6 separate regions of the Homo sapiens genome follow, and regions 1, 3, 4, 5 and 6 are each linked to region 2. The links are contacts of gene promoters, found by promoter capture Hi-C in blood cells and fetal thymus (Javierre and others, 2016). All regions are on one chromosome and are shown on one strand. The core of a region is centred on a gene start or on the middle of the fragment in contact, and the rest is flanking DNA. Distances in the headings are between cores, read along the strand shown.

Region 1 (2,772 bases), core at 67-2,566, 490 kb before region 2:
TGCTATTTGCTCTTATCCACCAATACTGTCAATGGGTTCAAACCCCCAATTTACATGAAAGTGAACATACATCAGAATAATATAATAGAAACTTGGAGAGACCCTAAGCCTCAAAAAATTTTTATCTGGCTGGCTTTTAGTCCTTCTCTTGAAGATTTCCATAGATGAAAAATTCACTTTACTTTGATAGCTTATTCTAATGTTAGTTCCCTTAAATCGTCAAGTTATTTATGTCTAACTGAACATTTGCTACATTTTGCACCCATTTCCTCATTATGTTTTTGGTGGATAAACAGGCCTTTTTCTTAAAACACTTTTCTGTCTCCTTGAAAGGTACCTTTTATTTTAGACTGATCAACCCCAATTACTTTTGCAAATACTTAGTTTAAGTATTTTAACTAGGTAATAGAAAAATTATGGAGTAATTCGTAGAAAAGAGGACGTTTATTTGCCCAAGAAATAGTGATTGATTTGAAAACCAGTAGTTTCCTCAAAGATTATTTTCATTTTTAATTTTAGATGAAGTCTCCTTATTCTGCTGAATGACAGGATAAACTCTGACGCACCAAGAAAGGAAGCAAATGAAAAAGTTTAAAGACTGTTCTTTGCCCAATAACCACATTTTATTTCTTCAGCTTTGTAAATACCAGGTTCTAGGAAATGTTTGACATCTGAAGCTCTCTTCACACTCCCGTGGCACTCCTCAATTGGGAGTGTTGTGACTGAAATGCTTGAAACCAAAGCTTCAGATAAACTTGCAAGATAAGACAACTTTAAGAAACCAGTGTTAATAACAATATTAACAGAAGACTCGCTTGCCTGTGTTTGGTTTATTTCTCATTTTGTCTCTCTGGTGTTACTACGATTTTAGCTAGAAGATGTAAGTGTTAATGTTTCAGGGTAGGTCAAGAATAATAAAGTCACACCTACACCTCAGCAAGAAGGCGTGAGGGAAAAGCCAAATAAGCCAATCAGTATGATGAACGCTAGCAGGCATGGTGATCACAGTAGATCCAAGAGGAAAGTCGTGATGGGACATTAGCAGAAATTCACGGGGCATCCAGGGTTGAATTATGAAGCCTCCTTAGTGCCATGTCAACGTTATTCCAACTATGGGGTTCAACAGCTGCTGGTTCCAAAGGAGGAGGGATCCAGAGTCATTCCTGGTGGTATCTTGGGCAAACTGCACTGATTTTACAGGTATTGTAAGCAGACACATGGGTTAAAAAAATAATAATTTAAAAAAACTCATGAGGACTAGGAGGATGAAATGAGGACTAGGAGAATAACAACTCTGGCCTTGGGTAACTGATTTTATTCATAGGTTGCTCATTCTTCATCTCTAGAAGAGGTAAGACTATGTGGGTTCTATGATCTTTCCCAGCTCTAATAGTCTCTCTGGTCCTAAGAATCCAACCTGAGACTGGGGAAAGAGGTTTAGGATGAGATGTTCCATTCCTTCAATTTTCTCTAGTAAAGAGGAAGGGTAGTTGGTTTCCTGGATAGTAATGTATGTGAATTGCAAGTCTATTTTGGTCCTTGCCTCACCCCTACTGGATGTTTAGTGGTGCCATTGCCCAGCTGCTGTCCTTAGTAATAGCATGGAGCTCTCCAGTGCTCAAGACCTGGAGAGCTCTCTATGCCTGCTGAGCCCTGGGGATGCTGCTGAATCTGTTGAGCAAGTAATGCTACTGAGGCATCTGCCATGCCAGCTGCAGAAAAATCCAGAACCAGGTTTCAAGATGAGCCCTGACTGCAGAGTCAGAGATGGCAGCCCCCTCTGAAGGGCTCTTATTTCATTCCTTCTGCCCACCTCCTGTCCTCCAGGCAAACCAAATAGGCAGAGGCTAATGTTTGATGGAAAAGAGTTCAAAGGAATAAAAGCTTTTACTATAACCTGCCCTTTCCCTTAGAGAGATTCCATCTGAGCAATCTCATCCCACCCACATGTGCCCAACTGGCTCCTAGATTATTCCTATGGAACAAACTCTCCACCTGCCCCAAGGCCAGTTCCTTTACTCCTTTGTGAGCGCCTAAATGCTTTTAGGGTGGAGGCATCTGTTTGATGGAAGGGTGCATCTAACTGGAGGTGCATCCTCCCAGTCTCTACTTCTCTCCACAAAACCCGGTTTTCTAAAATTTGCCTGACACGTGTATCAACTGGCAGCAGAATTGGATGAAATAATTTAAACTGGAGCATGACTATTACAGTTTTATCTTTAAAGAAGTAATTTCCTACCAGGAAGTGCTCTTAAACAATTGGATTTAGACAAAATAGATTGCAGAAGCTCTTTGCTCCCTGGAATTTATCAAAAGTACAATGGACTCCTACCTATTTCACAGAAGTTTTAAAAACTTGTCAATTTAGAGCCTGGTAGCAGAATGCCAAGGTTTTCTATGTGATCACAGTCATCATTGTTATTTGGGGGTACAAAATGAAGGACATCTGTAGTTCATTTTCCATAATATGGACAATGGCCACGTTATAAAAGTTCAATAAGTGGCTATTTTTATTTAGATTCAGAAAATCAAAACTAAATTATTGACCCCAGAGTTAAGAGTTATTTCTCAAGATTGTGAATCTTGTACTCCAAAAATCATTTTTGTGGGGGTGTCTTATTTCATTTTGTGTTGCTATAAAGGAATACCTGAGGCTGGGTAATTCATAAAGAGATTTATTTGGTTTTGCAGAGTGCACAAGAAGCATGGAACCTGCATCTGCATGTGAGGCCCTTAGGCTGCTTCTACTCATGGCAGAAGGCAAAGGGAAGC
Region 2 (2,718 bases), core at 126-2,625:
GGATCTGTGATATAAATAGCACTTTAAATATTTAGTACATTGCTGCCTGCCCTTTTGTTTCTCCACCAGATATATCTGTAGAAAATACATTCATCATTCAACAACCCACCTGTTTATTTTAGCTACTTTCCATAGTGCCATCCAAAATTAAACCAAATCAAAATGAATGTGGTTAGGTACAAAAGCTGTCTTGCAAGAAGCAAGTGCACACCGCACCTGGGAATACAGGAAAGAATTGGATCAGGGCTCTGCTGTTTCTCTGAAGACAGGCTTCACTCAAGTAATGATGGTTTATTTTTAAAAACCATCCCTCTGAAGAGTCCCTTACAAGGAAATTTCTTAACTTTTTAAAAGCCATACATGGTGTACACATGGTGCCAAGTGCTTAAGGGCAGTTGGTTAAACCTTTCTTTGAGGGCAAGGAAAGCCTAGTCCATCCTACTCAGACTTTTAGGAAAAATGAGGCTTATCTATTTTTAACAGGATAATTTCTGTTACTTTGGGTTCTCTAAGATATCTCACCAAAAGACCAGAATTAGAGAAGACTGTCCTAGTTAAGTATGGAATATTGAGTCAAATTAATGGGTTCCAGGTCCTGTGGAGGGAATGTTCTTTAAAATATATGTATATCTCCTAATTATCAGTATTAAGATCATTCAGGTTATATGTTAATTTAAAAATATATCTATTACATTAAGAAACTTTTTTTTAACATAAGGTAATTTTAAGAGAACCTTGTCATGTTGGTGAAGGAACATTTTACGAGCCCCTCTGTACTCTGAAATGCCGTGTCCGAGATTAGACATACAAGTCAGTGTTACTTAAGCGGCCAAATTTCCAATTTGTTATTGCTTGTTACCAAATGAAAGTAAAAAGATAAACAGAAAGGTAAAATAAAGAAACTGGCTTTTATGTATTTTATTCACAAAAAGGGCGTTTGCCGAAGGACCTTCCCATTCACGGGCTGTCACTCACAGGTGCTCGGAGAATTCAGCCTCCAAATCCGCAGGTCACAGGTCAGCCAAGTTTTAAGAAACACTCCGGGTTAGCGACTCTTCCTCTCTGCAACTCCCACCCCTGCGCCGAGGGCAGCGGGACACGGCCGGGCGGTCCCCAGGGGAAGATGAGGCCCTGGACGCCCCGCGTGCGCTGGAGGCCCGGAGGCCAAGGCCGAGGCCGAGGCCGAGGCCGGGAGCATGCCAGCGGGGTCGCGCCACCGAAAGCTCCTCCGGCCTGGGCCCGCCGTGCCCCGAGGCCGCGGGCGGAGGCTGGAGCAACGAGCCCAACTCTCCCTCCGCCCCGGGGAGGCGGGGTCTCCGCCTTTCCCGCGTTCGGGCCTCACCGCCCCCTCCGCCTTCTCTGAGCCCCCGCGCCACTTCCGCTCCTCGCAGCGGAGCCGGTCCCCTAGGGCTCGGGTCGCACGGAGCTGACCCCTAACGAAATGGGGCCGCGCCAAGGGCGGTGGTGGCTGCTGCTCTGGCTGCCGCCCCTGGCCACACTGCCCGTGCGCGGGGAGGCGGCGGCGGCAGCGTTATCAGGTAACCCGGGACCGGCGGCGGCGGCGCGCGCGTGCGTGCTCGCTCCCCGGCTTCGCGGCTGCCCTGAGGGCGCGCTCTTTGGCCCGGGCGGCACCGCGAGGCCCACTGGGGCGGGCGCTCCCTTTTCTCGCTTTGGGGTCTCCCGGGCAGGCCCCGCCCGCCCTTCCTGTCTTACTGGGCTTCCGTAGTCTCTCGCCTGGCAGTTGGACATTTTGTAATTTTAGAATTAGAAGCAACCGCGCGATCCAGTCGCCCAATTCCCTCGTTTTACAGAAGCAACCGAAACTCAGAGAGGTTTTGATTTGCCCAGGGTCACACAGCTTGTCACTGGCACAGCTGACCCTAGTCTCCAGACTTTCAGCACACGGCCTTTTGTACAGTACATCAATGCGTGTTGAAATCCTTGTTATTTCACTATCTCGCATTCCTTTGGTCTCAAGACTAGAGAAGGTAACAGCTTCAGCTTCAGAATCGGAGCGAAAATTCTTCTGCCCCTGACTGTTGTGACCTTGAGCGAGTAAACATAACGGTCCCACGTGAGCGGCAGGTAATGAGGCCTCACAAGGTTCTTGTGGTGTTCGTGTGCACAATGCCTGGCACACAGGAAGCAAGAACTGGTAGCGGCTGCTAGCTGTAGGGGCTCGCCACGGAGTGGGCTTAAGATGCTGGCACACTGGGGAAGGATCTGGGAAGGACACCTGGGGAAGTCAGAAACCTAGAGTTCCAACTCCAGACCTGCCGCTAACTTACCATGAGCTTCACATTTCTGTTTCTTTTTTTTTTTCCCCTCATAAAATCTTTTAAAAGATTTCCTGGGTGCACTGTCTACCAACTTCCCTTCCTTGCTTTGGCTACCCTGGTTTCAAGGGAGGCTGCCAAGTGTATTCTTTTAGCTGGGCATGGCCCTCCCTCCGGTTATACCGCGGTTTTTTATCTAAGGATGAATGAGAGACTGGATGTTGATGAGGTCATTATCAGATTCTGCCACAGCTCCCAACTGAGGGAATCTTGCAGTGAGTTATATGTTGGGGAAGTGTTGGATTCCAGTTTTCATTGAAGAGAAATTTTTTGAGTGTTCAGTATGTGCTAGGCAGTGTTATAAGTGCTTTAACTGCAGTATCTATCATATTTAATACCCATAGAAGCCCTATGCGGGAAAGCACCATTTTATACCCATTTT
Region 3 (2,700 bases), core at 51-2,550, 360 kb before region 2:
TAATACCTATAAAGTTAAAAATGCACGAATAAAGAAAGGATTAGTTTTCCACACAAATATTTTTACTTGTATTAGTGTTAAGATTTACTAGCATTAAAAACAATTGACTATCAACCTGGGTACAGGCAGTCTCCAACTTTCGAACAGGTTTTACTCCAAAAAGTATGCTTAGAACGTATTTTCCCAAGTTAAAAAAAGTCACACATAATAGTTTTCTCAGATTACCGAAAAAGTCTAAAAATATTAATCTACAATGTATTTTAGGTAAAATATTAACACACTGCTTCAACCAAACCTACCCACCTTTATAAATTATTTCTCTGGGGAAAAATGAATCCCATGTTTTAACATCTCCTCCCTAGCTGCATGAAAGGGAGAAGTTTATTTCTGGCAACACTAACTAGGTAACTTCTTATATTTGAAAACAGAGAAAAGAACATCTCTGAAGCAATCACCTTTCCAGGTGACTGAAAGCTATTAAAAGGTTAACAGTTGGAGGTTTTGAACCACCTCATTCTAAGAATAAAGAGAAATAATTATGCCCTAGAGACTTGTACTTTTCTACTGGTTGCTCATATAGACCATAAAACATTTGTCAAGTTGGAAACTGCCTGTATTACAAGCATAGATTTTTAAAAATTGGATTAGTGTTTAAAACAATAATTACTATCTCTTAATTGCAGGCAGAAAATTTAATGTTTGCAGTTCCCTGGCTTAATAATCAGAGGATTTAAATTGTTTTTAATTTCATATTTAAACATAACAACATGTTTACAAAACATAAATATTTTTTCAAGTATTAAAACCGTGTAACTTTAGGAGGCCGAGGCGGATGGATTACCTGAGGTCAGGAGTTCGAGACCAGCCTGGACAACGTGGTGAAACCCCGTCTCACTAAAAATACAAAAAAGCCAGGCATGGTGGCAGGCGCCCTTAATCCCAGATACTTGGGAATTTAGGTGGGAGAATCACTTGAACCCGGGAGGCAGAGGTTGTAGTGAGCCAAGATCATGTCACTACACTCCAGCCTGGGCGACAGAATGAGACTCTGTCTCTTAAAAAAAAAAAGTGTAAAATACTGCTTCCACTTAAAATTCCAAAGCAGTTCCCCTACTGATTATCAACAGATCTACCAACCATTACTCTAACAACTTCATTCACAGATACAACAAAATAATGCCCACAGAAAGCACTTTAATCAGAATATTGTGCAGACAGTTCATGAACACGAAAAATAATCCTTACCGCAAAGACACAAATAAATTTAGAAATGATGTTTTTCTGTCTCTTAAAAAGCAGGTTCTGGAAGTCAAAATTCCTAATACCAACTGCAACACGGACCTAAAGTCTACACTTTAAGGTCAGCTAAGTTAACAGAAACAAGAACCTCCTCGTGAAAAGATAAGAAACCCAAGCTGTCAGCAGTGCTTCACAGCATGCCAGGAAACTTCAGAGAACCACAGTTAAATACTTATACCTTCAGATGACTTCATACTCCAGGAGACATCTAGAACAAATCACCCAACCCCCAAAAGAAGATAAAACAAAAGTAAATACAACCATACATAACAAACTTTCAAAGTAGATGCAGAAATTTTTTGGATCCATGTCTGGAAAAAGCCAATGTCTTATAGTAGTATTTACAGTTTTATACTAGTTTCTACTTAAATAGTAGTAGTTTAAAATACTATTTGATTCTTTGGGATCCATTACACACATGTCCATTAAATCTTTAAGTAATCAAACTAATAGAAACACATTAATGAAGATAAATAATAAATATATGCAAATACAGGAACATCAAAGTAAAAATTCTCATTCAACCAAATCAAGGCTTTAATCGCCAAAGTTGCCTTTAGTTCTTTACTGTTTTGAAGAAAATGAAAATAGCCAAAAGCCTATGTATCAATATGTCTGAAGAGAGGAGAGGAGCAGACAATGCAGGTATGTAAATGTGAGGAACACAGGTCTGTCTGAAGCCCTCTCATTTTATGATGTCACCTAAATCACCTTGTGGAAAAGAACTAGAGACCATGCTGAGAAAGCGTGCAAGTCATGCAGATGAATTGGGGATCAATATAAGCAATGACAGGACAAAGGATGTGCTCTACTCAAACTGAATGCAATCTCCAAGTACTGTAAACTGGAAACATCGGTGGCTAAATTTGCTTAGAACAGATTTAAAGAAAGAATACTCTTAGCCCGGTGTATTATAGAACCTAATATGTACCAAGTTCTTCAAACAAATGATGTTTATAAATCCCCTTTTTCCATTACACAGGAAGCAGTGGCCTTCAAAGATGCAATTTTGTTTTAAAAGCAGAATCACCGTATAGCATAGCAAATCACCATTAAAGGTTTGGCAGAAACTTTTACTTTTTAAAAAGATCTTTGTCTAGCATGACACCATCTGATGTTGTTTGAAGAGTTAATCTTAACATATCCATACACTCTTTCAACCTGGGATCAGACGTTCGCAATCCTGTAGATTTGAGTGCCTGTTTTTAAAAAAATAAGAGTTTGTAAATATATAGTGCAAATAATGTATATGCTTATACCAACTATAAGATTTTATTCCTGTATATAAAAACTTCTACCCAACACTTGAACATGAATATGGCATCTTAGTGTCACTATTACCCACTTTCTGGACAAGTTTCTCATTGTTTCTTTCTTTTTCTTTCACTGATTACCTTGAAA
Region 4 (2,700 bases), core at 71-2,570, 380 kb before region 2:
AATGGCGTGAACCTGGGAGGCAGAACTGCACTCCAGCCTGGGCGACAAGCAAGACTTCGTCTCAAAAAAAAAAAGTAAATTATAAAATTTTTCTGTAAATATGCCTGTCAAGTTACAGAATTTACATTCCTTTGAAGAATACTGTATGAATGAAAATTTGATAGAGGCACTGAGTTTTAACATTATCTATTAAAAAATTAATGTAACTATATTGCAATGTTTTATAGTTTTTACAACATATTTATGAATTGATTCATGTATTATACTTTATAACAGGTGAAAAACACTGTTAACAAGGACATCTGCCAATAAATTTAATAATAAAATGGCTCATTTAAAATCAATGCATCAGAGTTATTTTGTAAGTATCGCACTTGATTCCATTCATAAAGTATGGAGGTGCAAGCCAATTAAAAATTAGAGATCATAGAGGAAAAAGGCAAAAAGAGGTAACTAAAAACGATTTTGTGAAATACTCTTAATTTAGTCTTATGATAGAAAATGGTTTAAAGCTAAAGAGTATTAGGAAAATAAAAAATAAGACACTCCAGGTAAAAAAGAATGTTTTTCTAGATCTAGTATTTTCATAGATCAACCCTAAAAATAAAGTAACAGAACAATTTTCAGTTGACAATAAATGCTCTACCTTTCATTAAAAAAAAAAAACTAAAGCATAAACTGATATAAACAAGAAGTAAATAAACCAATATAATCCTGTCTTCTGAATGTTGCAAGTCCAAGGCATCATGCATTACTCTGAGAGTCACAAACTACTTTAAAAACCTGTCTTATAAGCATGCCTAACAGGTTATTGCTAACATAACCAAACTGAACATCACATATACATTAACTAAGCTTGTCTTGATTTTCAATGAGTATGATTACAAATTGTTTAAAGAGAAAGAAAAAAAACCCTAATTTTTAAAATTCAAAAATACTTTTGATTAAAAAGAAAATTGAACTTCTTTAAATGACAAAAACTGGAAACTACCACTAGAATGAGGCATGCCAAGTAGAGTGGCTAATGCCTGTCATCCCAGCATTTTGGGAGGCCAAACTTGGAGGATCACTTTAGGCCAGGAGTTTGGGACCAGCCTGGGCAATATGGCAAGACCCTAGCTTTATAAAGAATTAGCCCTGCATGGTAGCCTGTGCCTGTGGTCTCAGCTACTCTGGAGTCTGAGGTGGCAGGATCACTTGAGCACAGGAGTTTGAGGCTGCAGTGGGTTATGACTGTACCACTGCACTTAGACTGGGCAACAGAGAGAGACCTTGTCTCTAAAAAACAAAAAACAAAAAACTCTGAGAGGTAAAAACATAGAAGACAGTGTAACTTTTACTATTTCTAACATGAAAAAGCATTAAGTGTGGCAATTATTTTGCAGTATGTTGTCCTCATTTTCCTATCCTAACCCTTAAGTTATCACCAGATCTTAACTTTTAAACTAAAACTACGTGAAATTTTTACCAGTGAAAAGAAAACAAATACGTAAGGATACTGCTACATCATATAAAAATAACTGTTCCTTTCAAATTTATTTTTGTTCTTTCCTTTTAATCAAGCAATCACACATTATCACAATCCCAAATAAAACAGATTACAACAAAAAGTATTCCTTTAAAGTTAGTAGCTACCACAGAGAAAAAGAGAGGAAGTATAATACCCTTATGATTTTTAAAAATTATGTGCATTTTAAGTATAAAATTACATTTGTTTTTAAAAAGGTATTTACCTATATAGCTTTGTTTAAAATTTTAAATATTGGAGTTTTCCTATAAGCTTAGTAGTTAAGAATTTATGCAACAGGCTCCTTCTGTCCAAATTCTCCTTTTTTCCACAATCTGCTAATCCTTTTGAACATTTGCTCTGCCTCTTCCCCCATTTCCTGAGGATCACCACCAATCCTACAAGGAAAAAATATCAATACTACAAAATTATGAAATCAAGAGTCTTACTAAAGACTCTACTTAATTTTGGGGTGGGGGGATTAACATGAAGAAAATGATTTTAATGGCACCATGATAAATTCCTGAATTTTGAAAGAAAAAAAAAAATCACAAATAGCCTTAAGGTCATCAATTAAAAGAGCTAAAAACAGAATTCACCTCTAGTAGCCATGGTGAAATATCCGTGGCTTTGGGTACTCAGATGCAAGCATCTTGGAAAAGGGCCTGTTTCTTTACTGACTAATGTCCGAAGAATGACTACGTAACACTTGCTATCAAATGAGATACAACTTTTAAACCAATAAATTGTTATCGTTTGAACCAGTTCAAATTAAGGAAATAGTACTTCTGCATTTGGGGCAATATAACTATGCTAACTAAAATTAAAGATGTCATCAAGAGAAATGGCAAACACCTACGTTAAATATGGCAGAGTGAATTGTAATGAACAGCACATTGAGTATCAGGAGATTTAGTTCAAGTCCAATTCTACTGCTGTTACAACCTTGCCAGGTTCTCAGTTTCCTCCGTTATATAAAGTAAGAGAACTGGGTTTGACAATTTTTAAGGCCTTTTGGCTATGGTTTTATTACCTAAATTTCAAACCAATACCAATTTATAAATATTATGTGATCATACAATTTGCAGAGATCACATTATAGATATTTATATGAATTTAATCCTTTCCCTAAAAGATCCTAAGAAAAATATTACATATTCTGGGGCATTCAATTTTACATAGGGTTATATCAG
Region 5 (2,700 bases), core at 201-2,700, 480 kb before region 2:
AAATTTAAAAATTAGCCAGGCTTCTTGGCTCGTGTTTATTGTATTAGTCTGTTCTCATGCTGCTATAAAGAACTGCCCGAGACTAGGTAATTTATAAAGTGAAGAGGTTTAATTGACTCACAGTTCTGCATGGCAGAAGGCATCTCTTCACGGGGCAGCAGGAGAGAGAATAGATGCAAGCAGGGGAAATGCCAGTGGCTTATAAAACCATCAGATGTCATGAGGCTCACTCATTATCACGAGAACAGCATGGGGGAGACTGCCCCCATGATTCAGTTACCTCCACTGGTCCCGCCCTTAACACATGGGAATTATATTACAATTCGAGGTAAGATTTGGGTGGGGGCATAGAGCCAAACCATATCACTTGCAGTCTGAGCTCCTTGGGAGGCTGAGGTGGGAGGATTGCTCTAGTCCAGGGGTTGGAGGCTGCAGTGAACTGCGCTCCACTGCCACTGCGCTCCAACCTGGATGACAGAGCAAGTTCCTGTCTACTAAACACACACACACACACCTTGTTGATAGGGGAGTAAGTTACCTGGGTTCGCTTGGCTAATAAGAGGCGTTGCAGCTCCCATTGCCTGACGGTCCAGCATATCTGCTTTAGGTAGATCCTTATTAGTTACCAAGCAGGGAGGGAGACAGCCACAGATTTTTCCACTCAGGTAAAATAAAACTGAACTGAAAAATCAAATTGCTTCAGCAGGAGTGCCAAGGGGCTGGGCTTGGGTCCGTTTCTACTGGTATATATGAGGATAACTAGCTTTATAGGCCAGACATTTCCTCACACTCCTTTGGAAGGACATTTGTGGAGTAGGCGTGACCTCATGCCTGCATACATGTGCTCGGCTACAAGTATGCATACACACTCTTCCATGCCCTACTTGAAAATCCAGACTCCTTCCCCAGAGGTCTGGCAGGACAAGATTCACTTGTGTCTGCTCTGCATATTGCCACCTGTGTGCTGATATAAATCCTAAGTTACATGATGGTCATGGGAGACTCTCCGTTTTCCTAATGAATTTTAGGACTTGCTTATATCAAGTTTTTGTTGTGATTTTGAATCTTTAGGATCACTATGTAAAAATGGACTTAACAGTTATCCAAAAAGCTAAGTGTTACTTTATCCTTTTAAATTACATTTAATGATGTTTTAATCTTTAAAAATCATTACTTCTTTATGCCAGATTTATTGTTTGTAGTAGGCAAAGAAGAAAATATATCTTTTTAAATGTGTATAAGAAAAATAATGAATTTTACCATATGAATCATAAATATAAAACAGAAGTTTGAAAATATTTGAGTTAAATTACAAATGTACTGTGATTTGTAGGAGAGCAATTTTGGGAGAGTCTTGTGATTTGTCTTAAAGCAAGTCTAATTAAAATAATGTTTTTCATGTATTTATTTGATAAAATCACAAACTCATTTTAAAGGCATATTTATTGGATACCTACTATGTGGTTGACATTGTTCTAGGGATACACCAGTGCACAGAATCCTCCACCAACATCCATCCCTTCAAGTGGTGAAAACAGACAATAATGAAAATAAAATATGTGGTAGGTCAGATGGTGGTGTAAGTACTATGAAGAAAAATAAACCAGGGAAAAGAGAGAGCATGTTTCCAGGGTGGGAGGTGGTTGCAGTTTAAATAAAAGAGGCCAGAGAAGGCTGCCCTGATATGTTGACAATAAGCAAAGACATGAAGATGTGTTTCGTGGAGGAGAAAAAAAGTTCATCCCCAAACTCAATTAAAAACAGGCTTTAGACTATAAATGCCATTTAAATAAAATATTCCTGGGACAAACTATGTTTTGGATTAAGCAAGATATTTAAGAGTACAACCTGATGCTAGGAAGGCTTTCTTTGGAGCTATGGTTTCCATATACATAGAAAGAATGTATATTCTTTTTCCCTATAGGATGTCTCAGTGGTACGAACTTCAGCAGCTTGACTCAAAATTCCTGGAGCAGGTTCACCAGCTTTATGATGACAGTTTTCCCATGGAAATCAGACAGTACCTGGCACAGTGGTTAGAAAAGCAAGACTGGTAAGGAAAATTCACTAGACAGAAGAAGAAGTTTACACCTTAAAAGTACTGGTTGATTAAGTGACTTGGGGCCATGTTTACTGGAAGATGAATTCCATCAATGGCCACTGGAATTATTTGTTGTAGAAAAGTTTGTTGATTTAAAAAATGACTCAACAAAGTTGAGCCAAAAAGTGTCTCAACAAAGTTAAGTATATTAGTCATTAAGCACTTTTATACAGTTTTGCCAAATTTAATTTATGATAGATATTCCTAAATGCTTTGGACAAGTTACGGAATACTGACACCGATTATTTTCCAACTTAGGATCCAGACTATAGAAAGAAGTAATTTAAAAGAAATAAAGCCAAATTAATGGTTAAACATTGATTAGAAATATGAAGAAGGTAGTAAAATTAAGGGGATTTTTTTTAACTGATAGGTGTTCTACTTTAAAATTTATTATTTGCTAATTTAAAAACGTCCTGAAAGTATTTGACATAGAAAGTGAAGGGTCCCCTGTTGACTTTTCCCCCTTCAGAGATAGTCACCATGAACACTGTCATGCACAATCTCTTAGAGTTTAGAATTTTTTGTGCTAATTGCACATAAGAGAAATACCACATAAACTGCTGCTAAAAGCAATGTCAGTTTCAAAAGAAGAAAAT
Region 6 (2,775 bases), core at 199-2,698, 300 kb before region 2:
TTGTGCCTTTATCAAACAAGGGAGCCCTTCCTGGGAATTTCCTGAAATACTTGGGAAGTAGATCCTGGTAAAAATTGGACTACCTGAAGTTAAGTTTGGACTATTGTCAAAATCCTAAAGCCAAGTGTGACTTCTAGGCTGGAAAAGCTAGGACTTCTGGGTTACATAGCACCTGAGGGCTTCAGGAAGCACGAAAGATAGGATTTGTGTGCAGGTTCTAAGTTCTAAGGTCAGAGCCTGAATCATGGAGTAAAATGTGAATCAAAGTTTTCAACAAGGATATGTTAAGTAGGGTTTTACATTAAGGCCACTCAAGAATAATTCTGTGTCTAAATTCATCTATACATATTCTTGTCAATAATTGATCTCTGTGTTAGTCATTATTTCTATTGTCTTTTTTTCTGAAACTTCATAGCAAAAGCACATCTAACATTTCAGATCACTTTAAGGATAAGATGGGGTGAAATAATACACCCTCTGGAAAGCTAATTTCTCTGAAAAAATGCACAGACCTTAAGAGAAATTTGCAGGTATGAAAAGTGATCATTGGTAAGTTATGCAGTCTCTGACCTTCATCCATTCTTTCTTACCTCCCAAATAGAGGTTTGTGAGAATAATAACATATCCACATATGTATTGCCACAGAAACAAATATACCAAACATGTAGTCATATACATTAAACAAACTGTGTCACCCAGGTGATAGGAGTAGGAAATGCTCAGAATCTCCTAAGGTGTGTTATTTAGTATTTAGCATTTTACATTTATCTCATTAAAGTTTTGTGCTATATTAGAGCCTATATGGATCAATAAGCACTGCCAAACTGCTGAAGGCGATACAACTATTGAAATGTTTAGCACAAAATTTACAATGCTATAATCTCACATATTATAAAACCTAAATTCTGCAGCAGAGGGACCTGGACTCCTAGACTTCAGCTCTGTTTCTATTGCTCTTTCTATAATTCTTACTATAATTACTATAATTTCTGTTGCTTTTACTATAATTCAAATTTATTGTTTTTGATGTCAGAGTCTTTCCTAGAAGTTACATAAAACTCTGAAATTGGATCAGGCCAGTTGGGGAGTATTATGATAGGCGCTAGAATAGTGAAATTCGACCAAAGTTTGGAAAAGAAAGGACTGAAGAGAAGCGGTCATCTTCTTTCTCCCTTCTCCCTTCCTGTGGTTGATTGCAAAAATGGCTGCAATACTTTGCAGCTCCTTCCAGCAAGAAGTGGAGTCTATTTCCCCACCCCCAAGATCAGGTGGGCTGCTCTTGAAACTTGCTTGGGCCAAGAATGTGATGGAAGTGATAGTTTGTGTGTTTTTTATTTTATTTTTTTATTATACTTTAAGTTTTACGGTACATGTGCACAACATGCAGGTTTGTTACATATGTATACATGTGCCATGTCAGTGTGCTGCACCCATTAACTCGTCATTTAACATTAGGTATATCTCCTAATGCTATCCCTCCCCCTCCCCCCACCCCACAACAGGCCCGGTGTGTGATGTTCCCCTTCCTGTGTCCATGTGTTCTCATTGTTCAATTCCCACCTATGAGTGGGAACATGCGGTGTTTGGTTTTTTGTCCTTGTGATAGTTTGCTGAGAATGATGGTTTCCAGCTTCATCCATGTCCCTACAAAAGACATGAACTCGTCATTTTTTATGGTTGCGTGTGTTTTGAATCCAGGTGTCAAGAGACCTCAGAGCTTTCATTCCTTCTGATCTCAGACTCCTGCCCAACATATCTTGGGCATCAAGGGAGACCGAGAGGGGCAGAAAGCTGCAATAGTTGAACAGTCCTAGACTAACCAGCCCTAGCTAACCCACCAGCTGCCCACGGATACATGAACAAGTCCAGCTGTAAGATCATCTTAGCCTGTACAAAGCCAAACCACCAAGCTGAGCCCAGTCCAAAATGCCAAACTGCAATTTGTTTTGAGTCACAAAGTTTGGGGGCAACTTTATGAAATAGCAAAGTCTGATAGCTCTAACCACATCTATGAGTCACACAGCCTAGAAATGTTATCAAGTAAGTATTTTCCTCAAAGTAAAAGTTTTATAGAGTCACTTAAATCAGTGCTACTAAAAGTGCTGATCCAGAGAGACAAAGAGCTTGCACCAGAATGTCAATCTGTACACTTCTTCCCTCATCAACAAAGTCTTGCTGCAAAAATCGTGTCAGCTGAATTAAATGGTGTGCATAGTTGACATATTTGGTTTATATTCTTGTGCAAACTGAAAATACTCAGATAGTAAGAATTTAGGCTTTTCAGGCCATACAGTAGTTGTCACAATTTTAGGCTTTGTATACCGTACAGTCCCTGTCAACTTTGTCAGTATAGCACAGAAGCAGCCATAGGCAACAAATAAATGAATGGGCATGGCTATGCTTCAATGAAACTAAGAAGCAGACAGCAGTCTGGTTTTGGTTTGTGGGCCATAGCATGCTGAATCCTGAATCCTAAGCCATTTCAGCAGCTCATCCCGTCAAAGCTCATTATCGTGTCTGCTTTTATAATAATGTCAAAAGAATGTAGGCAAGAGCAAAAACAGAATTGGAGATATCTTTCCTTAGAGACCAGAAAACCAAATGCCTGAAATAGTTGTTTCAGATGCCCCAACATGGAGATAGAGGGATAGAATGAAATATGGAAAATTGTACATAATTATTTAAAATGTATATGAGTAATAAAGTGCACAAGTACTGCCAGTCAAGGCCCTGGGCCAAATTTGGAAAAAATAAATATTCTAAGAAGGTTTCATT

What was found. Contacts are between HindIII fragments. The CHiCAGO score rates a contact against its expected background, and 5 or more counts as called.
Region 1: a contact is called between a fragment that was not itself captured here and the fragment with the promoter of NEMP2 in region 2, in 1 of 17 cell types (activated CD4 T cells). The highest score is 5.6, in activated CD4 T cells.
Region 3: a contact is called between a fragment that was not itself captured here and the fragment with the promoter of NEMP2 in region 2, in 1 of 17 cell types (activated CD4 T cells). The highest score is 5.4, in activated CD4 T cells.
Region 4: a fragment that was not itself captured here is called in contact with the fragment with the promoter of NEMP2 in region 2 in 1 of 17 cell types (activated CD4 T cells); the score reaches 5.4 in activated CD4 T cells.
Region 5: a contact is called between a fragment that was not itself captured here and the fragment with the promoter of NEMP2 in region 2, in 1 of 17 cell types (fetal thymus). The highest score is 5.4, in fetal thymus.
Region 6: a contact is called between a fragment that was not itself captured here and the fragment with the promoter of NEMP2 in region 2, in 1 of 17 cell types (activated CD4 T cells). The highest score is 5.2, in activated CD4 T cells.

What each region holds. Positions count from the first base shown.
Region 1 is chr2:191,027,614-191,030,385 of GRCh38, reverse strand. STAT4 (signal transducer and activator of transcription 4) reads left to right here. Exons shown (of 24, transcript NM_003151.4): 24 at 520-810. The coding sequence ends at 546. All of the region lies in intron 1 of STAT4-AS1 (STAT4 antisense RNA 1), which reads right to left. It overlaps LOC124900514 (a long non-coding RNA gene), which reads right to left. Exons shown (of 2, transcript XR_007087796.1): 2 at 2,660-2,772. Among named protein-coding and RNA genes, the nearest start is that of STAT4-AS1, 7.5 kb to the right of the region's middle. The HindIII fragment of the contact is 1,141 bases long and covers 746-1,886 here.
Region 2 is chr2:190,533,379-190,536,096 of GRCh38, reverse strand. NEMP2 (nuclear envelope integral membrane protein 2) reads left to right here and starts at 1,375. Exons shown (of 9, transcript NM_001142645.2): 1 at 1,375-1,538. The coding sequence starts at 1,442. It overlaps NEMP2-DT (NEMP2 divergent transcript), which reads right to left and starts at 1,259. Exons shown (of 5, transcript NR_183903.1): 1 at 976-1,259. RefSeq lists a silencer at 1,062-1,711. The HindIII fragment of the contact is 6,238 bases long and covers 1-2,718 here.
Region 3 is chr2:190,895,402-190,898,101 of GRCh38, reverse strand. It overlaps GLS (glutaminase), which reads right to left. Exons shown (of 18, transcript NM_014905.5): 3 at 2,377-2,498. Among named protein-coding and RNA genes, the nearest start is that of GLS, 16 kb to the right of the region's middle. The HindIII fragment of the contact is 6,937 bases long and covers 1-2,700 here.
Region 4 is chr2:190,912,398-190,915,097 of GRCh38, reverse strand. All of the region lies in intron 7 of GLS (glutaminase), which reads right to left. Among named protein-coding and RNA genes, the nearest start is that of GLS, 33 kb to the right of the region's middle. The HindIII fragment of the contact is 925 bases long and covers 858-1,782 here.
Region 5 is chr2:191,009,229-191,011,928 of GRCh38, reverse strand. STAT1 (signal transducer and activator of transcription 1) reads left to right here. Exons shown (of 25, transcript NM_007315.4): 3 at 1,925-2,053. The coding sequence starts at 1,926. Among named protein-coding and RNA genes, the nearest start is that of STAT1, 3.6 kb to the left of the region's middle. RefSeq lists enhancers at 105-194, 495-604. The HindIII fragment of the contact is 4,868 bases long and covers 1-2,700 here.
Region 6 is chr2:190,837,885-190,840,659 of GRCh38, reverse strand. No RefSeq gene overlaps it. Among named protein-coding and RNA genes, the nearest start is that of GLS, 42 kb to the left of the region's middle. The HindIII fragment of the contact is 3,899 bases long and covers 1-2,775 here.